2 separate regions of the Homo sapiens genome follow, and region 2 is linked to region 1. Evidence: promoter capture Hi-C in 16 types of primary human blood cells and fetal thymus (Javierre and others, 2016). All regions are on one chromosome and are shown on one strand. Each heading gives the region's core, a stretch centred on a gene start or on the middle of the fragment in contact. The rest is flanking DNA. Distances are from core to core; before and after follow the strand shown. Region 1 holds the start of ZNF500 (zinc finger protein 500). Region 2 overlaps GLYR1 (glyoxylate reductase 1 homolog).

Region 1 (6,808 bases), core at 1-2,500:
GGATCTCTTCCTGTTCCAGGTCCTGCTCCAAGGTTGGCAGGGGCTGGAGGCCAGGGACAGTGGCCATTGCTTCCGGTGGGCCTTGTTCCTTTTCAGGCCTTAGAGTTGAACCTGTCTCTCTCTATACCTCTGGCCAGACACAGGAAGAGAGTTTTTTTCAGGGCCCTGTGGAGAGACGATAAAACCATCTGAAGGGCAGCCCTGGGGCTGGATAAGCCCTTTGGCCTGGGAAGCCCCTGCCCTGGTTCCAAGGCCAGCTCACCCCACCATGGAAAAGGAAAAGGAAGTGGATGAATGTCATCTTTGTTATTAACCCCCTGTTAATTCCCGGGTAATTTACTGAAGGGCTCTGGGCTTTGCTTCCTCACTGGGCAAACAGAGATGATAACAGGACCTACACACACAGGTTGCTGACAGAACTAAAAGGGATGGCTGGGGGCAGTAGCTGACGCCTGTAATCCCCGCACTTTGGGAGGCAGAGGAGGGCAGATCACGTGAGTTCAGGAGTTGACCACCTGGTCAACGTGGTGGAACCCTGTCTCTACAAAAAATACAAAAATTAGCCCGACATGGTGGTAGCACATCTGTAATCCCAGCAACTCGGGAGGCTGAGACAGGAGAATCGCTTGAACCCGGGAGATGGAGGTTGCAGTGAACTGAGATAGCGCCACTGCACTCCAGCCTGGGCGACAGAGAGAGACTCAAACAAAAACAATCTAAAAGGGATGTTTGCGGTCAGAGCTCGAGAATCGTTATTTTCCATGATTAGAGTGGGTCCTATATGGAAGGGGTTCCTTTGGAAATCTGATGAAAAGTAGGGCCTTTCTGCAGACTCTGCCTCAACTTGATCCCCGGTGTCCAGGTCTGGCGAACCCTGAAGCCCCTACGCGGCCCCGTCAGGCACCCCCGCGTGGGTGGTCACGACAGCCCCCCAATTCCAGGGTCCTGGGAGAGCTGGGACCCCCAGGCCGGGCTGCTTTCCCGTCTCATCCCTCAGGTGGAGGGTGAGCGGTACCCGAGGCCGCGGCACAGACCCGGGTGCTGGCGCGGGCCGCGAAATCGAAGCTTCGGCCGGGACCCGCGTCCCCGCGCCCCCCGCACTCACTGGAAGCGCTGCCGGCCGTGGGCAGTTCGGGGCAGGACCGGAGCGGCGGGTCTCGGCGGGAGTAGGACTGCGGGCCTCAGGCTTGGCAGCCAGGGACGCCAGAGCCGGGGCCGAAGACCCTAAACCAGGGGTGCAAACCAGGCCGTGCGGGTGGGCCCGCAGGCGGCATTGTGGGTAACGTAGCCGTGGCACCATTGGCTAAGCCGGCCGTTGGGGGCGTGGCAACACGGCCGAGTGGGCGGGTCCGCGACGTGCACTGTGGTTAATGTGGTCCTCAAAGGCACGCATTGTGGGTAACGTAGTCCAGCACCTCGGTGACCGCGCGAGCGTGCGGCGACTCTGCAGCCTCTGGGCTACTTTCCCAGTCACTGTTCCACACCCGCTCCGCTCTCCTCTGGCCGCCTCCTCCATCTTTAAAGCCAGCAAAGTCGTCCGGGCACGGTGGCTCACACCTGTAATCCTAGCACTTTGGGAGGCCGACGCGGGCGGATCACCTGAGGTCGGGAGTTCGAGACCAGCCTGACTAACGTGGAGAAACCTGGGCGTGGTGGTTCATGCCTGTAATCCTAGCTACTCAGGAGGCTAAGGCGCAGGTTGCAGTGAGCCGACATCCTGCCATTGTCCTCCAGCCTGGGCAACAAGAGCGAAACTCCATCTCAAAAAATAAATAAATAAATAATAAATAAATAAAATAAATAAAGGCAGAAGTTGTTCAAGATAAAACTGGAAGAGATGCCAAGTGCTTGCGCCCACCCTCCCCCAAGAGGGCCCCCAACAACGTCCAACCCCAAATATCCCTTGTCCTGCCTGCTTCTTTCTGACAACATAATAATGGGCATCAATCTTTGTTGTTGTTGTTAGAGATGAAGTCCCACCATGGTGCCTAGGCTGGTCTCAAACTCCTGGGCCCAAGCAATCTTCCCGCCTCAGCTTCCCAAAGTGTCAGGATTACAGGTGTGCCCAGCCAGGTATCAATTCTTGTATGTATGTATTTATTTATTTAGAGACAGGGTCTCACTCTGTCGCCCAGGCTAGAGTGCAGTGGCTCGACCTTGGCTCACAGCAACCTCCGCCGCCCGGTTTTAAGCAATTCTCCTACCTAACCTCCCGAATAGTTGGGATTACAGGCACGAACCACCAGGTCCGGCTAATTTTTGTATTTTTAGTAGAGATGGGGTTTCCCCATGTTGCCCAGGCTGGTCTCCAACGGCCTCAAGCAATCCACCCACGTCAGCCTCCCAAAGTGCTGAGATTACAGGAGTAAGCCACCGCTCCCGGTCGCATCAATTCTTGAGCATCAAGCAAGCAAAACACATTTGTACTTCGTTTCTTCCTCATTTAGTAATAGAGGTACTATAACTAGACCTACCGGTTCAACAAAACAAAACAAAACCCTGAAGCTCTGAGAGTTTTAAGTATTGAACCCCCCAGAGAAGGTCAAACAGGAAGTACAGAAATGGGATTGGAACCCAAATCTTTGATTCCAGAACTTCAGCTCCTAACTACCAGGTTAACGTAGTTTGCCCCTAATCCTAACTTGGGCATCCTAAGGCCCGTCTCCTATGCTGGATTCTCGCTGCTTTTCCTCTTTGGTTGAACATGATCCGGAGTTTCCCTCTGCCTGGGGTGCCCAGGAAAGAGTCCCAGCACCGAGTTCGGGTGAGCAGCAACGCAGCATACACAGCAGGCGTACACTCAACGTACGCCCCGCCCCGCACAAGCTCCGCCCCGCATGCGCGCCCCGCCTCGCATCCCGGATCTACCCCCGGAATCTCGCGCGTCTTTCCCAAAGCATCGGCTAGGACTCAGCCCGCCGGAAACAAATTTGGGGACGCCGGATTCAGGAAGCTGGCAGGACTACATTTCCCAGAGCGCCCCGCGCCCTCCCCGGAGGCAGATTCCTGGGCGCTCTAGAGGGGGTGGGTTGGCGGCCTGGAGGGTCTCCTCAAGTGGCGGCACTGCCAGGGGCTCGGAGGAAGGGGCTGCAGTCTCCCGGTGGCAGCGTCCTTGTCGTCGAGACTGCGGGCGGTTCCCTTGCGCGCCCTGAACCTCAGTTTCCATATCTGTTAATGGGGGACATTAACCCTCAAGGTTGTAACTCATTCAAGACCATTCATCCAGGCATAATAAATGCATAAACGCTGCACGTTGAGTCCTCCCAACTGCCCCCTTAACTAGGCGCTCGGGTGATGGAGTGGTGGCAGGTGCCTGCTTTCATGGAGCTTGCCATGAGAGGCATACAGTGGACAAAATTACCATGAGAGGCATACAGTGGACAAAATTGCACGAAGAATTGTTTAATCACTTCTTTGGCAAATGTTAGCAAGCGGCGTAAAAGAGGGAACCTGATACCTTCAGGGTGGAAGTGACAGTTGAGCAGCCTAGGGTTAACCTGGGGAACCGGTGGGGAGGATTCCAGACAGCAGGAGTGAAAAGTGCAAAGGTCCTGGGGCCGGAGAGAACACGGTGCGTTTGAGGAACAGAATGGAGACCAGAGATTGGGAGATGTGGCTGGAGGGATGGGCAAGGCCTGACCATACTTGGAGACTCTGGTGAGGATTAAGGATTTTATCCTTGGAGTCAATAGAGTTTGGGGTTTTAAGTAGGATAGCATCGTGATCAGATAAGAAGCTTTGTGGAGTACAGATCTCAGAAAGACTGGAGAGGAGCAGTGAGACTAGCTGGAAGCTCCTGGAGTGGTCCAGAGTTGGGGTAACTAGTGATGGTGGTAGTCACTGACAAGGATCTGGCCAAGATTCCTGGAGCACATTCAACAGTGCTTGGTGGTTGATTAGCTTGGGGTGGAGGAGGGAGACAAGGATAACTCCTTTGTACAATGGGGATGGTAACATCACCTGCAGTAGGCACCATTATGGTAAAGAGACAGAACAGAACGTCAGACACATATAGGCTTAATATGTCCTAATTCTGTTAGTAATAAAGACTACCTCTGTGTTCAGGGCAGTGTTGTTTGTAATGGCAAAACCGAAAACAGTCTAAATGTTAGTCAACAGGAGAATGATGGATAAATCTCACGGAGGCTATGCCAAACAAAAAAAGGCAAGTGGCAATATGATACAATTTTCATAAATTTTGAAAATGCAAAACAATTCTACATATGATTTAGAGACATGTATGCGGTTCAAAGAAATGTTTGGGACTTGGATGAACACCAAATTCAGGATGGTGATGGGGCAAACGTTGAAGAGGGATGTGATGGGGGGAAGGTTCAGGGGGCAAAAACTGCAAGTTTTAATGTGCTTTTTATTTATTTTTAATTTATATATTTATATTTTTATATTTATTTATATTTTTTTATTTATTTTTACTTATTTTATTTTTTTTTGAGACAGACTCTCACTGTTGCCCAGGCTGGAGTGCAGTGGCGCAATCTGGGCTCACTGAGACCTCCGCCTCCTGAGTTCAAGCGATTCTCCTGCCTCAGCCTCCCAAGTACCTGGGATTACAGGCATGCACCACCACACCCAGCTAATTTTCGTATTTTCAGTAGAGACGGGTCTTCACCATGTTGGCCAGGCTGGTCTTGAACTCCTGATCTCAGGTGATCCACCCTCCTTGGCCTCCCAAAGTGCTGGAATTATCAGGTGTGAGCCACCGCGCCTGGCCATTAATGTGCTTTTTAAAAACAACAACAAAAGCCATTATTTTGAATTTGTATTCATGAAGTATTAAAACCTACCAAATGTTTTAATAAATAATCTTAAATAGGCCAGGTGCGGTGGCTCACGCCTGTAATCACAGCACTTTGGGAGGCCGAAGCAGGCAGATCACTTGAGGTCAGGAGTTCAAGACCAGCCTGGCCAACATGGCAAAACCCCGTCTCTATTAAAAATACAAAAAATTAGCCAGGCATAGTGGCACACACCTGTAATCCCAGCTACTAGGGAGGCTGAGGTAGAAGAACAGCTTGAACCAGGGAGGCGGAGGTTGCAGTGAGCCAAGATTGCACCACTGCACTCCAGCCTGGGCGACAGAGCCAGATTCCGTCTTAAAAAAAAAAAAAAAAAAAAAGCCGGGCACGGTGGCTCACACCTGTAATCCCAGCACTTTGGGAGGCTGAAGCAGGTGGGTCATGAGGTCAGGAGATCGAGGCCATCGTGGCTAACACGGTGAAACCCCGTCTCTACTAAAAATACAAAAAATTAGCCGGGCGTGGTGGCAGGCGCCTGTAGTCCCAGCTACTCGGGAGGCTGAGACAGGAGAATGGTGTGAACCCGGGAGACGGAGGTTGCAGCGAGCCAAGATCGCGCCACTGCACTCCAGCCTGGGTGACAAAGCGAGACTCCGTCTCAAAAAAAAGAAAAAAGAAAAAAGAAAAATTAGAAGGCCAGGTATGGTGGCTCACACTTGTAATCCTACCACTTTAGGAGGCCGAGGAGGGCAGATTGCTTGAGTCCAGGAGTTCAAGACCAGCCTGGGGCTGGGCGAAACCCCATCTCTACTAAAAATGCGAAAATTAGACAGGCAGGGTAGTACACGCCTCTAATCCCAGCTACTCGGGGGGCTGAGGCAGGAGGATTTCTTGAGCCTGGGAGGCGGAGGTTGTGATGAGCTGAGATTGTGCCACTGCACTCCAGCCTGGGTGACAAAGAGAGACCCTGTCTCAAAAATAAAATAATTAAATCTTCAAAAAGAGCCTCCAGAGGCTGCAGGGCTCTGTAGACACCTTGATTCTGGCCCAGTGATATTGATCTCATACTCCTGACCTCTGGAGCTATAGGAGGATACACGTGTGTTGTTTTAAGCCTCTGCATTTGTGCTAATTTGTTACAGCAGCCACAAGAAGTGAAAACATATGGAATGTAGTGCTCTGGGTGGCCAGGGAGGCTGTTTCCCCTCCTTTACAACACTGGACAGCCTTGGGGGATCCCCTAACACATGCGCATAACAGTTAGTGGTGCACAATGTGGGGGTGCTATGCTTCCCCCAGGGGACACGTGACTTGTCCTGGATAATTTTTTTTTTTTTTTTTTTTTGAGACAGAGTCTTGTTCTGTCACCCAGGCTGGAGTGCAATGGCACGATCTTGGCTCACTGCCACCTCTGCCTCCCGGGTTCAAGCAATTCTCCTGCCTCAGCCTCCCGAGTAGCTGGGATTACAGGCGCCTGCCACCACGTCTGGCTAATTTTTGTATTTTTAGTAGAGACGGGGTTTCACCGTTTTGGCCAGGCCAGTCTCAAATTCCTGACCTCAGGTGATCCACCTGCCTCGGCCTCCCAAAGTGCCAGGATTACAGACTTGAGCCACTGTGCCTGGCCCCAGGATAATTTTTAATTAGCAACAAAGTGAGAGTTGCTACTGGTGTCTGGTGGGTGGAGGCCAGGGATGCTACTAAACATCCTACAGTGTACAGGACAGTCCCCACCACAAAGAATGATCTAGACTGGGTGAGGTGGCTCGTGCCTGTAATCCCAGCACTTTGGGAAGCTGCAGCAGGAGGATCTCTTGAGCCCAGGAGTTCATGACCAGCATCGGCATCATAGTGAGATTCTATCTCTACAACACTAGATAAAAATTAGCTGAGGGGCCCAGTGCGGTGGCTCAAGCCTGTAATCCCAGCACTTTCAGAGGCTGAGGCGGGCAGATGGCTTGAGCTCAGGAGGTCGAGACCAGCCTGGGCAACATTGTAAAACCCTGTTTCTACCAAAAATCCAAAAAAAAAAAATTAGCTGGGCATGGTGG
Region 2 (6,808 bases), core at 1,758-4,257, 52 kb after region 1:
CATGTAAAATTCTTCCTACCTGATCATTTAACCAGTCAAAAAAGGCAACTGTTTCATTTTTTTTTTTTGAGACAGAGTCTCGCTGTCGCCCAGGATGGAGTGCAGTGGCACGATCTCAGCTCACTGCAAGCTCTGCCTCCCAGGTTCACGCCATTCTCCTGCCTCAGCCTCCCGAGTAGCTGGGACTACAGGCGCCCGCCACTGTGCCCGGCTAATTTTTCGTATTTTTAGTAGAGACGGGGTTTCACCGAGGTCTCGATCTCCTGACCTCGTTATCCCCCAGTCTCTGCCTTCCAAAGTGCTGGGATTATAGGCATGAGCCACCGCACCCGGCCTTGTTTGATATATTTTAATTACTCCTGATTACCGAATATTTTTTATGCCTTTGTTTCCTCTTTTGTGAGCCATTTTTTTGTCCTTTTTCTTTTCTGAGACAGGGTCTTGCTGCTGCCTAGGTGGGAATGCAGTGGTATGATCACAGCTCACTGCAGCCTCTACCTCCTGGGCCCAAGAGATCTTCTGGCCTCAGCCTCCCAAGTAGCTGGGACTATAGTAGGCAGGTGCCACCTCACTCAGCTAATATTTTATTTTTTGTAGAGATGGAGTCTCATGTTGTCCAGGCTGGTCTCAAATTCCTGGACTCAAGCAATCCTCTTCCCTCAGCCTCCCAAGGTGCTAGGATTATAGGTGTGAGCCTATTCTTAGATCTAAAATTATTAATTAGCACCCTACTAATTTTTTTGTCTTAATTATCAAACTATGTTTAATAAAAGCAACATATTACCCTTCTTACGTATTTGCTACAAGTACTTCTAGTTGGTATTCCTTTGAATTTTATTTTTTTGTTGTTGGGGAGTATTATCAAAAAAAATCAACTGATCTTCTTGTGTGATTTTTATTAGTTCTAGATTTACAAAGATCTATGTTAGTATTTATTTTCTTCTGGTTTTCTTTTAAAAAATTACTTGTGGGCCAGGCACAGTGGCTCACACCCGTAATCCCAGTATTTTGGGAGGCCAAGGCGGGTGGATCACCTGAGGTCAGAAGTTCGAGACCAGCCTGGCTAACATGGTGAAACCCCTTCTCTACTAAAAATACAAAAAATTAGCCAGGTGTGGTGGCGCGCGCCTGTAATCCCAGCTACTTGGGAGTCTGAGGCAGGAGAATCACTTGAACCTGGGAGGTGGAGGTTGCAGTGAGCCGAGATTGTGCCATTTTTTTTTTTTTTTGAGACGGAGTCTTGTTCTGTTGCCAGGCTGGAGTGCAGTGACACGATCTCAGCTCACTGCAACCTCTGCCTCCCACATTCAAGTTATTCTCCTGCCTCAGCCTCCTGAGTAACTGAGACTACAGGTGAACGCCACCATACCCAGCTAATTTTTGTATTTTCTATTTTTTTTTTTTGAGACGGAGTCTTGCTCTGTCGCCCAGGCTGGAGTGCAGTGGCGCGATCTCGGCTCACTGCAAGCTCTGCCTCCCGGGTTCATGCCATTCTCCTGCCTCAGCCTCTGGAGCAGCTGGGACTACAGGTGCCCGCCACCACGCCCGGCTAATTTTTTGTATTTTAAGTAGAGACGGGGTTTCACCGTGTTAGCCAGGATGGTCTCGATCTCCTGACCTCATGATCCGCCCGCCTCAGCCTCCCAAAGTGCTGGGATTACAGGAGTGAGCCACCGCGCCAGGCAAATGTTTAGGTTTTATAATAACATCCTAAGTTTAGGCATCTACATCTCTACCTGCCTGGACTAAAAGCTTGGCTTCTATTCTATTGCACGCAGAACGCTGAGACAACAGGGGGAGATGTCCACTCTTAGGGTTACCCCAGACTCCACCGATCCAACAGGCACCACCCCTGAATGCTTACTTTCTCTGCAGTGCGGTTCCAGACAGTCACTGTGTGACCCATTTTTAGCAAGTTGGAGACGATTCCACTTCCCATGAGACCAAGGCCCAAAAATCCTATCCTGAAACAGAGAGAGACTGATGAGTTCAGGGTGGAAAGGGAGGGTCACGGTGATGATGATTCCATGCAGCACAAGGCTCGCTCCCTTATACAGCTTGGGGTAGGGGAATTCAGACTGCCAGAAACAGCAGTGGCCAATCTACCTGCAGAGCCAGGGGCGTCATGCACATGGGTCTTCTCTTATGCCATGGTCTAAAGCTGTCCCAGGATGTAAACAGGCATTTTGAAACCCCTGACTGTCACAGAAAAAAGTATGATGTGTATGGTTCAGGGCCAGTCTCCCAGGGCAAAGTCCCCTTGCTGCCCTTTTTTTTTTTTTTGAGACAGTCTTGCTCTGTTCCAGGCTGGAGTGCAATGGCGCGAGCTCAGCTCACTGCAACCTCTGCATCCTGGGTTCAAGCGATTCTCCTGCCTCAGCTTTCTGAGTAGCTGGGATTACAGGCGCACGCCACCATGCCCAGCTAATTTTTGTATTTTTAGTAGAGACAGGGTTTCACCATGTTGGCCAGGCTGGTCTCAAACTCCTGACCTCGTGATCTGCCCACCTCGGCCTCCCAAAGTGCTCGGATTACAGGCGTGAGCCACCATGCCCGGCCTCACACTTTACTTATTTTTTGAGATAGTGTCTTGTTCTGTTGCCCAGGCTGCAGTGTAGTGGTGCAATCATGGCTCACTGCAGCCTCGACCTCCTGGGCTCAAGTAATCCTTCCCCCTCAGCCTCCTGGGTAGCTGAGACTACAGGCATCTGTCAGCACACCTAATTTTTTGTGGAGATGGGCTTTTGCCATGTTACCCAGGCTGGTCTTGGACTCCTGGGCTTAAGGGATCCGCCCACCTCAGCCTCCCAAAGTGCTGGGGTTGCAGGTGTGAACCACTGCACCCGGCTCTGGATACTACTTTAAAGCCCAACAGAATCCACCACAAGTCACTGAAGCACTGTGTTTAGAGCCAGGCAACTTCCTTGACTGCATGAACCAGGACGGCAATTTTCACCTCTCTTTCCCAACTTCAATTCTCTACCCACACCCTACCTTTCCCGTCTTCCCGTTATCAACAGAATGGGCCTTGCCTCTCCTCTCCAAAGCTAAGTCCTTCACCTGAGCTTGGAACCCAATCTTTCCCAGTCCACAAATCCTTCTCCCCATGCCTGCCTTCCCCCAAACCTCTCACTGTTCCCCCAGCCCTTCCTTCCACAGGTCCTTCCCAATCCTTGTGACAGAAGCACTCATTGGCCAGTCTCCTCCACACACATTCACATACTCCGCCTGCTCCTTCCTGCAACCCTGAGAGCTGGGGGCTGGATGCCACTGCTGCTATTTCAACATGCTTTTACGGATGACTTTTAGCTTGCCAAAGTGTCTTTTCTTGATTCTTGTACTTCTTCACCTCTCTTTGCAAGTGACAATGGTGCAAAAGAATGCCTTTCCTCATTTCTGATCATATCATGTTCTTGTTTTTATAGTTTTTAATTTTTATTTATTTATTTATTTAAAAAGAGAGATGGGGGGGTCTTGCTATGTTGGCTAGGCTGGTCTCGAACTTTTGGTATCAGGCAATCCTCTCACCTCAGCCTCCCAAAGTGTTAGGATTATGGGCGTGAGCCACTGCACCCAGCCTTTTTTCTTTTTTTAGTGACAGCATTATGCTGTCTCCCAGGCTGGAGTGCAGGGGGGTGATCATAGCTCACCGCAGCCTCAAACTCCTGGGCTCAAGTGATCCTTCCACCTCAGTCCACCTGAGCAGCTAGGACTATAGGTGCATGCCACCATGTCTGGCTAAGTTTTAAAATTTTTTTGTAGAGACGGGGTCTTGCTGTATTTCCTAGGCTGGTCATGAACTCCTGGCCTCAAGGGATCCTTCTGCTTTGGTCTCCCAAAGTGTGGGGATTACAAGGATGAGCTACTGCGCTTGGCCATGTTTTCAATTCAGAAATTCTCTGACTGCTGGATGTCCCCGGCAGCTCCTCCACTTTGACCCTGTCATTCTTTCCATAGTTTTGGTCTTCTGGAACCATCTCTACAAATGGACCCCTAATCTCAGCTGGAATATCAGCTGCTCACATTCTCCCTGTCCCAGCCTGTATTAAGTAATTTGAATCACATGTTGAAAATGGAACCCACCAACTTTCTCACCAAAATAGACCTCCTTGCTAACTGCTTCAAGTTGTGGCTTAAAAACAAGGAGGTACCTTTTTGTCACTCATTATTTGGGTAGTACAATATTCCCCCATGATTCTAAATCATGACAGGCGAATTCCCTTTCCTTTCTTGGTGTTCTAGGAAGTCCAGTAGACCTGGGATAAAGCTTCTGGATTTTTTTGAGACACAGTCTCGTTCTGTTGCCCAGGCTGGAGTGCAGTGGTGCGATCTTGGCTCACTGCAACCTCCACCTCCCGGGTTCAAGCGATTCTCCCACCTCAGCCTCCCAAGTAGCTGGGATTAAAGGCACCCACCATCATGCCTGGCTAATTTTTGTAGAGACAGGGTTTCACCATGTTGGCCAGGCTGGTCTTGAACTCCTGACCTCAGGTAATCCGCCCACCTTGGCCTCCCAAAGTGCTGGGATAACAGCCATGAGCCACCATGCCCAGGTCAAGGTTCTGGATTTTTAATATGGCAACTGAGAGTCCTTCACACTGTGTCTCAGACAAAATGGAAATGTGGATTAAGGTGGGTTGGGCAACAACAAAACTGGTTGGTTTTGATGCTGGCTTCATACTCTTTTATTAAAAGTTTGACTAATGGGCCAATAAATGTGTTGGGTAAAAACATCAGGACTCTGTCCTCACCCTATCCTGATCATTTTTTTATTTTTATTTTTTTAACACAATCCTCCTCCCCTTTGTTTGCACCTAATATGCCCTTATCTCCTCCACTCTACAGAGACAAGTTCACCAAAAATAACTGGTAGCATTAGTGATTTAAACAGTACAAAAATATCATGTAAAAGATGCACTGTTTTTAGTCTGGGGAAGACCATGTGAAAGGTACAAACTGGAAACTGACTTTAGCTAACTTGCTCCAGAGAACGTGTTTTCCTAGAAAAGGTATCTTTTTGCCAACAAGACTCTGCGGAGGAGACATGCCTACAGAGCAGGCACAGAGGCAAGGCTGGGCGCAAGTTGGGTCTGGGAGCATGTCCAGGATCGCCCCACCCACACCGGGCAGGGTGCAGGACAGCCAGCAAGTGCTCAGTGAGGATCCCCAAGCACTTTCATCTCCCTTCCCCCACCTGCCCCACCATGGCCAATTTTGGGGCCTCATCATGATTCTACTCAGCCAGTGGTTCTCACAGCGTAGCTCTGACCAGCAGCAGCAGTATACCTGGGAACTGGTTAAAAATACAAATTCTTGGGCCCCACCCGGACATATTGACTGAGAAGCCACCTTCCAGGTGACTGTCAGGCACAGGAAAGTCTGAGAACCACTGAGCCAAGTGCTCCTTGCTCTTGAGTTCTGGAGCCAAAAAAATCCCTCAGCTTATGCCCAAGGGAGACCCGACCACAGATTTACACAGCTTTTGACTCCTGTCTTTATCGATAAGAGTTACAACATCCCCCCACCTTTTCCATTCAATGCCAGCAATGGCTGGGACACAACCCTTAAAGAACCCCCCTGGGGTCACCTTCTCCCCACCCTCAGCAGAACCAGAGCCACTGGAGGCCTTTTCATCAAAGGTCCTACTTTTTGTCTGTGGGTGTGATGCTGCCATTCACGGCTGTGCTGTCAGCTGCCTGGATGGAGGTGGAGCCAGTTTCCTACGGACAGGAAGCACACATCATCAAGTCAGTCTGCCTGCAGTTTAAGGCCCCAGGTGAAAATTAAAATGGGGAGGCATGGAGCCTACATACCTCTTCACATATTTTCAACTTCTTCGTGATTGCCTGGTAACAGACAGCTGGCTAATGAAGGAGGAGGAAAGAGACTACTTGTGCTACTGCAGGCTTAACCAGTCTTCATAATAATCCCCTCAAAGGTTAGACCCAAAGTGGGAAGTTAACATCAACTATTTGTTTTATACTTTAGTGAACTCCAAATTTTACACTAGAAAGTTCATACACATTACCTCATTCAAGTCCCCATGCAATTCTACCAGGTCTTTTTGCTGACCATGGTGTTGAGAATAAGAGTCATAAGCTTGGAACCCACATCTATCCAACTCCAAAGCCACAAACTCTCATGAGATCCTAGCACGGCTCAGGCCACCCCATAACCTTGCAGACCTTGGGAGGACCTCCCTCTGCATCCGCAGGACTTGGAGACTACCTCTTGGAGTGAGCTTGAAGATGTGTCTGCCATGCAATTTCATGGGGTGCTGACAGCTTACGATGTTTGGTTTCTGCCCTAAACTCTAAAGGTCACTGTGACAGTCTCAACTACACAGCTGGCTGAGTTTTAAATGCTCTTCTGAGATAGAGTCTCGCTCTGTCGCCCAGGCTGGAGTGCAGTGGCACCATCTCGGCTTGCTGCAACCTTTACCTCCTGGGTTCAAGCGATTCTACTGCCTCAGACTCCCAAGTAGCTGGGATTACAGGAATGCACCACCATGCCCAGCTAATTTTTGTATTTTCAGTAGAGATGGGGTTTCACCATGTTGGCCAGGCTGGTCTTGAACTCCTGACCTCAGGTGATCCACCCGCCTTGGCCTCCCAAAGTGCTGGGATTATAGGCATGAGCCACCATGCCCGGCCTTTGGGTTTATTTATCTTTTTTGAGACAGAGTCTTACGCTGTTGCCCAGTCTGGAGTGCAGCGACGCAATCTTGGCTCACTGCAACCTCTGCCTCCCGGGTTCAAGCAATTCTCCTGCCTCAGCCTCCTGAGTAGCTGGGATTACAGGCACGCGC

What was found. Contacts are between HindIII fragments. The CHiCAGO score rates a contact against its expected background, and 5 or more counts as called.
Region 2: a fragment that was not itself captured here is called in contact with the fragment with the promoter of ZNF500 in region 1 in 6 of 17 cell types (erythroblasts, megakaryocytes, endothelial precursors and 3 more); the score reaches 11.0 in erythroblasts.

What each region holds. Positions count from the first base shown.
Region 1 is chr16:4,765,912-4,772,719 of GRCh38, forward strand. It overlaps ZNF500 (zinc finger protein 500), which reads right to left and starts at 1,251. Exons shown (of 6, transcript NM_021646.4): 1 at 1,106-1,251; 2 at 1-165. The coding sequence starts at 67. RefSeq lists a silencer at 998-1,297 and an enhancer at 2,490-2,569. The HindIII fragment of the contact is 2,671 bases long and covers 1,064-3,734 here.
Region 2 is chr16:4,815,734-4,822,541 of GRCh38, forward strand. It overlaps GLYR1 (glyoxylate reductase 1 homolog), which reads right to left. Exons shown (of 16, transcript NM_032569.4): 8 at 5,814-5,864; 9 at 5,647-5,720; 10 at 1,865-1,964. Among named protein-coding and RNA genes, the nearest start is that of ROGDI, 17 kb to the left of the region's middle. The HindIII fragment of the contact is 2,515 bases long and covers 1,751-4,265 here.